Linked DNA regions of Homo sapiens: regions 1 and 2 are each linked to region 3. Evidence: promoter capture Hi-C in 16 types of primary human blood cells and fetal thymus (Javierre and others, 2016). All regions are on one chromosome and are shown on one strand. The core of a region is centred on a gene start or on the middle of the fragment in contact, and the rest is flanking DNA. Distances in the headings are between cores, read along the strand shown.

Region 1 (2,700 bases), core at 179-2,678, 2.3 Mb before region 3:
CAAGGCAGAAAAGAGAGAAAGTCATGAGTGAGGGCGAGTTAAGGCACGAAGTTTCAGGGGAGCAGCAGCCAAAGAGAAGGGGAAAGAGACAGACCGGAAGACTGGGCCGTGAAAGGGGGCGGGAGAGGCAGGGGACTTCAGAGGACTGGGGGGGAAATGTCGGGAGAGAGAAGATGTCACGGGGCACGAGGGAGAGGAAATGAAGGGGCAGGTGGAGCGGAGGAGCAGGGTCAAGATGAACTGACGGGAAAGAGGGAGAAAGAGGCTGCTGGGTGCAGTGGCTCATGCCCTTCATCCCAGCACTTTGGAGGCCAAGGCAGGAGGATCTCTTGAGCTCAGGAGCTCGAGACCAGCCTGGGCAACAGGAGACCTCATCTCTACAAATAATAAAAAAAATTAGCTGGGCACAGTGGCTCATGCCTGTGGTCCCAGCTACTCAGGAGGCAGAGGTGGGAGGATGGCTTGAGCCTAGGGATTCGAGGCTGCAGTGAGCTGTGATTGTGCCACCGTACTCCAGCCTGGGCGACAGAGTGAGACCTTGTCAAAAAAAAAAAAAAAAAGAGAAAAGGCACAGGGCAGAGTGGAAGAAATGAAACAGGAGGAGCCCCAGGTACTGGAGAGAGGGAAGATGCAGGGGTGTGATGGGGCAGCGCAGGAGACACGGACTAGGGAAAGATAGGATAAGGGGGTTCAGCGGAGAGGCAGAGGGGCTGCAGAGGGAGCATGCCGAGGAATTCCGCAGGGTGCCAGGACGCAGGGAGGAGTGGGAAGGAGGGGAGAGGAGGTCAGGGGCGCGAGTGGGAAGGCGCAGAAGCCCCTCTGGCAGAGGAGGAGGGGTGCCCAAGGGGGCCCCAGGATCAGGGACAGGCAGCCCCGGGAGGCTCAGGGTCTCTCGGAGGGGAGCGGCGGGGGCTGCGGGGAGGGCCGCCCGCACCCTACCTTCCAGGCAGCAGATCCTCCAGAGGCCCGAGTGCGTGAGGCCGCCGGGGTCCTTCTTCTCCGAGGCGCCGCCGCCCCCGCGGTGGGGGGTCCCGTCGTCGCCGCCGGCCGTGAGGTTGGTGGTGTTGCAGATGAGGGCGCGCGTGTAGAGCCAGTAGTCAGTGCTGATGGCGATGGTCATGAGGCCGAAGGCGGCGAAGGCGCCCACCGTCGTCAGCAGCACCTGCACCCCCTTCTCGCACCAGAGGCCCCGCTCTTCGTTCCAGCGCTTCAGCGACTCCAGTTTGACCACGGGCAGCCGGGGGGCCGTGGGCCACCACCGGGGCAGCGGGGGCGGGGCCGTGCCGGCGGCTGGGGGGGGGTTCACAGCGCAGGCAGAAGCGGGGGGCCCGGGGCCGGCGGGGCTGGGGAGGGGGGCGGCGAGGAGGAGGCTGCGGCCGGGGAGGGGGTCAGAGCGCGGCCATGGTCGGCGGCTGGTGGAGGGCAAGGAGCGAGATCTCGCATTAGAGGAGAAGAAGGCACAGGTACCTCCCCCAGTCCCCGCCCCCCCCCCCCCAAAATCCCTGCCTCAGCTCCAGAAACTCCTTCCACTCGGGGCTCCACTGCTTCTCTTTCTCAAAAATAATAATAATAATAATAATAATAATAATAATTAATAAATAAGATGAAATCTCTCTCCACTCTTGTCTTCTGCCCAAGAAAGTCATCCCACCATCCCACTAACCCCACTCGGAGGAGTCCCCACCACCGCTAATAATTAATAAATAAGATGAAATCTCTCTCCACTCCTGTCTTCTGCCCAAGAAAGTCGTCCCACCATCCCACTAACCCCACTCGGAGGAGTCCCCACCACCGCTAATAATTAATAAATAAGATGAAATCTCTCTCCACTCCTGTCTTCTGCCCAAGAAAGTCGTCCCACCATCCCACTAACCCCACTCGGAGGAGTCCCCACCACCGCTAATAATTAATAAATAAGATGAAATCTCTCTCCACTCCTGTCTTCTGCCCAAGAAAGTCGTCCCACCATCCCACTAACCCCACTCGGAGGAGTCCCCACCACCGCTCACACTCACAGCCCTCGCCCCTAGCCCGCGCCGCCTCCGCCCCAGGGGGCTCCACGATCCTCATCGCATGGGAAGCCACCCCCCGCCATGATGCCAAGCCCCACGCCGCCGCCTCCTCCCCAGGAGCCCCCGTCGCGTTCTTCCTTCCTTAGCGACCCCCGCCCCATCACCATGCGGCGCCCACCAGCTCTCCCCACTCTTCCCCTGCAAGCCCCACCTCTCCACCCGCTAGAACCCTTCCCTGTCAGCCCAACTTTTCCCTGAGCGTCTCCACAACTTAAGAAGCCCGAGTAGCACCACTTCCGTGGGAGTAACCTCCGCGAGCCCCCTCCGGTCTGGCTTTTGTCATTCCATCACTCCAAATGGTCCCCCACAGTTTCCTCTCCTTAGGAAAAAATAAATCTCTCAACCTCTCTTCAACTAAAAAGGAAAAATTAAAAGAAGAAGAAAAAGAAAAAGAAAATCCCAGCTGACCCTCACAGTTTGTGCAACTCGGAATCACCAGCCACCCTCAGTCAGCCTCCTCTCCCTGGAAGCCCCCTTCCTGCCTCGGGCAGCCTCCAACACACCTGGAAATCACCCGAGGACCTTAAAAATTCGGATGTTTGAGTCCCACCTGAGAAAGTCCGACATGGTTGGTCTGCAGTGTGGCCTGCGCATGTAAGTTTTTAAAAGCTCCCTGGGGAATTCTAAT
Region 2 (2,700 bases), core at 125-2,624, 2.8 Mb before region 3:
CTCGGTGCGGATGCCCTGCACCTGGGGCAGCGGGGCGAGAACAAGAGTCACAAGGAGCGGGAGGCAGGACTGGCTGAGGCCAGGCCCCTCCCAGCGCGAGTCTCACCGTCAGATCCTGCCGGATCGACTTCATCTGCTCGCAGGCAAACGCGTAGTCCTGCTTCTCTTTCCAGTGGCACTTGACCATGCACAGCGACTTTTTCAAAACCTGAAAAAGGGAACTGAATTCACACTCGGAGTACAACTCAGGTAGCGTGGCCAACGGCTTCCACTTATTTGGTGGGAGAGTTGCAACATTAAAAAAAGAAAAAAAAGGCCAGGCGCAGTGGCTCACGCCTGTAATCCCAGCACTTTGGGAGGCCGAGGTGTGTGGATCATCTGAGGTCAGGAGTTTGAGACCAACCTGGCCAACATGGTGAAACCCCGTCTCTACTAAAAATACAAAAATCAGCCAGGCGTAGTGGCAGACGCCTGTAATCCCAGCCACTAGGGAGGCTGAGGCAGGAGAATCGCTTGAAGCCGGGGAGCGGAGGCTGCGGTGAGCCAAGATCACGCCATTGCACTCCAGCTTGGGCGACAGAGCCAGACTCTCTCCCAAAAAAAGAGAAAACAAACCCACAAGACATGGGTTAAGAGTGGCCACCTCCACACCCATTTCCCTATAAGCACATGGCTGTTCACAGGTTCTGCAGCAGAACAGTGACTACGCCAAACACTGGAAACACAGCCCCCCACGCCCCACAGCCCACGGGCCTGGGAGAAGGCTTTATGCTCCGTGTCACCTAAGCCAGGAACCACGGCCCAGAGGTCAAGCGATTCGCCGGCCAAGCTGCACACCCGCCACGCGGGGCTCCAGGGCAGCAGAGCGCCTTTGCGCTCCTCTCAGAATGCCGACCAGCCGAGGCGTCTCTGGCCGAGCTTCCCCTGCCATACCAGAGCCCCCGTGTGGCCTCTGCCACCCTCCCTGGGTTGGCTCCCCAAGTCCTGAGCCAGCACGGCCTCACAGAGCAGAACTGCCCTGCTGGGCACTTACTGCCACAGGGCGCACGGTGGACGGGTCGGGGGCACAGGTGAGGCGCAGGTAGTGCTTGGTGATGTCAGGGCAGGTGCCCACGATCTGCAGCTCCTGCCAGTCAGGGTCAGCCCCACTGCTCTCCAGGCTGCTCATCTGCAGCACCAGGGGCTCGAGGCGCAGGCGGCGGGAGTGTCCGTGCTGGAAGCGGGCTGCCCGCTTCTGCTTCTTCAGCTCTCGCTCCGGGTCCTCACACTCCAGCGCCGCCATCTTCTTTCGACTGCGCTTGGTGGGCGCCAGATCGTGCCTAGGAAGGGATGAGGGGCAGTGAGCGCGACAGGCGTCTCCAGCCCCCCTTCAGCCTCGCCCCTTTGGCAGCTGGCTGTCCACCTGTCCGGCCCTCCTCCTCCTTCTCCCATGGGTCCCCAGTACCCTCCTCCACCCTGGCCCGTGTGTCGAGCCCTCACACAGTCTCACCTCTTCCCACGCTGCGCCCTGCCTCGGCCCCGATCCATATGGGCCCCTCGACCGCCCCGGCCCTTAGGGGGCGGGTTCCTGCGGCCCACAGGGTGACACTCATTCCCTGAGTAGGAGCTGTCGGAGTCTGAGTGGGAGTCACTGCAGGAAGAAGCAGGAGGGTCAGGCCTGAAACGCCTCCCCCTCCCTCACACACAGCCCCAGCCGGGAGCCTCAGTACCTTCTGCGGAAGTGGCGCGTCGGGGACCTGGAGGAGGAGCGGGAGCGGGAGTCTGTGCTGGAAGAAGAGCTGTTGTCCTTCATGAAGACGTTGCGGTTGCCAAACTTGGTGAAGCTGTTGCCCCGGGCTCGACCGGCACCCCCAGCCCCGGGCGTCCCTCGCTGGGACGGGGCACCCCCGCCCCTTGTCGCCGAGCCTGCCCCTCTAGGAGGGTGAAGGCTGCTAGCGGCCTCCCACCGCTTCTTCTTAGGGCTCTCAGCCACAGGCTCCCGGGTCAGCCTGAGAATACAGCAGGGCAGGGCGTCACCAACCCCGCCAGACACTGGCAGGACAGCCGCCACCACCTCCCTCAAGGTACCGACCCGCCTCCGAAAGGAAAGGCACTTACCCCAGGCGGCTCAGCTACTACAGTGCAGAAATGAGACGCGAACCCAGGTTTTCCGTCTCCAGAGGGTGCGCTTAACCACTGAGCAATGCACGCCTCTCCAGCACCCATGGTCCCCACCCCACCCCACCGGCCTCCCTCCAACCAGGACTTCATCCCCCCAGGATCCAACTTTCCAGTTCATTTCTCTTTGGAGCTCCTGGTACCTGGGACCCGCAACTCTCCTACCTCCATACCCAGCCCATGCCTCTCACAGCACCACCCTCCCACCTATGTCCCCCACCCAGACTAACCCCGGCAAGGGCTCCCGGCTCCAGTCAATGGTATAGGCCGAGCCGTCCTGCAGCCGCGCCTGCAGCACCTCCTTGAGCAGCTTTTCCGTGCGGTCCTTGTCCTCCTCCGACTCACAGGCGGTGAAGCAGCGCTCCACATACTCTTTCATGTCCTGGGGCCAGTCATCCGGCTTCCCAGACAGGTTCCCCCGGGCAGAGGACCCGCTGCGGGAGGACAGATGAGGGGCTCAGCTGGAGACGATCCCAAACTCAAAAGACCATCCCCACCGCCACTCTGAGCTGACACAGCGGGACGCAGTCCCCAAGTTTTCCT
Region 3 (2,700 bases), core at 5-2,504:
TCCCATCTCCCCATCCCCACACACTCACCCTGGGCAGCAGCCAGCTCCTGCAGGGCATGGGTCATCTGGGTGAAGGTGTCATGCAGGTGGCTTCTCTCATCATAGTCTGGCGGTGAGGGAGGGAGCAGGGGCTGGGGGAGGCAGCTCCCCGCAACACCATGTCCCTAATGCGAACATTCTGTTTCTGAGTCTCTGCCCTCCCAAGTCTGTATCCTCCCCTCTCTGACTCTTTGCCCCACAGTCGCTATGCTTCCTGAGTCCCTCCCAAGTCTCTATCCTCCCTGAGTCTCTGCCCCCGACCAGTCGCTATCCTGCTTCCCCTAGTCTCTGCCTCATCTCTGTCCTCCTCTCTCTGGGTTTCCATCCTCTTTGAGTCTCCATCTTCCACCCTCTGAGTCTCCATCCTCCCCTCTCTGGGTCTCTATTCCCTCTCCAGTCTCCAACCTCTCCTGACTCTCCATCCTCCCCTTTCTATGAGTCTCCATCCTCCTGACTCTCCATCCTCCCGAGTGTCCATCCTCCCCTCTCTGACTCTCCATACTCCTGAGTCTCCATCTTTCCGAGTCTCCATCTTCCTCTCTCTCTGAGTCTCCATCCTCCCCCTCTCTGAGTCTCCATCTTCCCCTCTCTGACTCTCCATCCTCCCCTCTCTGAGTCTTTGCCCTGCTGTCTTCCCCTGTCTGTGTCTCTCTGTCCCTAAGTCTCTGTTGTTCTCATGGTCTTTGAGCCTTTCTCCTCTGACTGTTTCTCTCTGTCTGTCCCTCAGCCTGACCCTCTGGGCCTCTCCTGCCCTCCCTCTGCACCTTCCCCAGGACACTGATGAAGTGTGGATGGTCTCCTCACTGATTTCGGTGTCAGAGAGGCCCTGGAAGGCGGCCGTGAAGGCCTCCTCACACTCTTCAAGCTTGGGGCTCCGCATCCCAACAAACATCTGGCAGATGCGGAGGCGCTCAGAGTAGGTTGTGAAGCAGAGGAGACAGGCCCAGGCGGGCACCCTGAAGACAGCCAGGGCCAGCAGGGCAGACGGGACGGCACTGGCCAGAGCCAGCAGGGCCATCGTGTGGGTCTCAAGGCCAGGGGAGAAGCTAGTAACCTTTATGAAGTCACCACAGGGCGGGGGAAGGGCCAGTGGTCTGGGGTCAGAGGTCAGGTTTCAGTTGGTGGTCAAATGTCATGCTCTGGAGGAAGGGTATGAGGAGTCAGGGGTCAGAAGTCAGGCCAGCAATTCCCCAGGTGTGTGGTTGGGCCAGACGCCAGGCTCCCAAGAACCTCACCTGTGACCCTGGATGTCCTCACAGGTTAAAGGGTCTCAGGGACCTAGAGACTGGCAACATGGTGTGCGGTGGCCCGGTAGACCCTGGGGTGGGGGTCAGAGATGGAGATAGGCACAGAGACATTCTGAGAGCCAGAGACAGAAAGACCAAAAACGACAGAAATAGAGACACAGAGAGATATCGGGAGGGGCAGAGACCTAGAAAGCCAGAATAAGAGGGAGTCAGAGGATCCACTGTGAAAGAGACACAGAAGCCACAGAGACACAGCAGAGATGGAGACAGACAGGGAAGGAAAACAGATTTCAGGGGAAGGAGGGGATGCAGGGACAAGGACAGAAAAGAGCCCGGCTCTTCCTCCCAGGGTCCCTGGGGCAGCCCAGTGGGGCTAAGGGTCCCTGAGTGGGGCTGGGGGTCCCCGCCGGGCCCCGTCCCGTGCAGGGCGCAGCCTGGGGAAAGCTAGGAGGCCGTATAGTGATCTCCTTGGGTGTCCTCCTCAACTATACAACCTCCTACCTCAGCCCGGGGGGCGCGGCAGGTGGACAGACCCGACAGACAGACAGACAGGGACCAGGAGGACCAGGGATGAGGGGGAGGGCCGGGGAGGCCCCAGCCGCGATGGTGAGCCCCCGACACGGACCCACAGACACGAGCTTGTGTGCGGCGAAGGCCCCGCAAGGTCGGTTCTACGGGTGGGTGCCAGGACCCAGGAGTCCGGGCCCCCGGCCCCTCCTCCCCAAGGAACCCAGGAGTCCAGGCCCTCAGCCCCTTCCTCATCAGGGACCCTGGAGTCAAGGCTCTCATCCCCCTCCTCCCTAAAGAACCCAGAAGTCTAGGCCCTTCCTCACCACAGACCCAGGAATCCAGGCCTCTGGCCCTTTTCTCCCCAAATGTTCCTGGAATCCAAGGACTCAGCCCCTTCCTCCCTCAGACTCATGAGTCCAGATCCAAAGCCTCCTTCTCCCCAGAGACCCAGGAGTCCCTGCCCCCAGCCCCTCCTCCCTCCGGCCAGGCAGGCCTCCTGGGGAAGGCATGGCCTGATAGAAAACCTGGCTTCCTGGGTGCCGGCTGGGAGGGAACCTCATTTGTCTCGTAATTTGGCCCTTTGGGCACACCTGCTTCCTACCTACCCTCCTGTCAGTCTGCAGAGACTCCAGGCCCAGGGCTAAGGAGGCCAGGGGCTAGCCAACCATCAGAGCCTCCCTAGGTGCTTTCTTTCCTCTCTCCTCCCTTCTTTGGGTCATTTACAACTATGACAGCCACAATCTCCCAGCGCTGACCCCATACCAGGCCCTGAGCACCAGTCCTCTCCCTGACACCTCCCACTCCAGAGAGCGAGGTGCCCTCAGCATCCCCATTTGGCAGGTGAGGGGGCTGAGCCTCAGAGAGGGGAAGAGGCTCCCAAAGTCTGCCCAGCCCCATCTCTGTC

Evidence for each region. Contacts are between HindIII fragments. The CHiCAGO score rates a contact against its expected background, and 5 or more counts as called.
Region 1: a contact is called between the fragment with the promoter of CACNG8 here and the fragment with the promoter of SPACA6 in region 3, in 3 of 17 cell types (activated CD4 T cells, naive B cells and naive CD8 T cells). The highest score is 8.2, in activated CD4 T cells.
Region 2: a contact is called between a fragment that was not itself captured here and the fragment with the promoter of SPACA6 in region 3, in 1 of 17 cell types (non-activated CD4 T cells). The highest score is 7.1, in non-activated CD4 T cells.

What each region holds. Positions count from the first base shown.
Region 1 is chr19:53,961,665-53,964,364 of GRCh38, reverse strand. It overlaps CACNG8 (calcium voltage-gated channel auxiliary subunit gamma 8), which reads right to left and starts at 1,428. Exons shown (of 4, transcript NM_031895.6): 1 at 940-1,428. The coding sequence starts at 1,222. RefSeq lists an enhancer at 2,067-2,587. The HindIII fragment of the contact is 5,876 bases long and covers 1-2,700 here.
Region 2 is chr19:54,455,255-54,457,954 of GRCh38, reverse strand. LENG8 (leukocyte receptor cluster member 8) reads right to left here. Exons shown (of 16, transcript NM_052925.4): 8 at 2,388-2,591; 9 at 1,710-1,988; 10 at 1,490-1,630; 11 at 1,034-1,319; 12 at 107-208; 13 at 1-21. Among named protein-coding and RNA genes, the nearest start is that of LENG9, 7.2 kb to the left of the region's middle. The HindIII fragment of the contact is 6,641 bases long and covers 1-2,700 here.
Region 3 is chr19:51,691,884-51,694,583 of GRCh38, reverse strand. It overlaps SPACA6 (sperm acrosome associated 6), which reads right to left and starts at 1,254. Exons shown (of 9, transcript NM_001316972.2): 1 at 844-1,254; 2 at 29-106. The coding sequence starts at 1,057. SPACA6-AS1 (SPACA6 antisense RNA 1) reads left to right here and starts at 1,128. Exons shown (of 2, transcript NR_108100.1): 1 at 1,128-1,950. It overlaps MIR99B (microRNA 99b), which reads right to left and starts at 1,972; the gene lies at 1,903-1,972. MIRLET7E (microRNA let-7e) reads right to left here and starts at 1,798; the gene lies at 1,720-1,798. It also overlaps MIR125A. The HindIII fragment of the contact is 8,848 bases long and covers 907-2,700 here.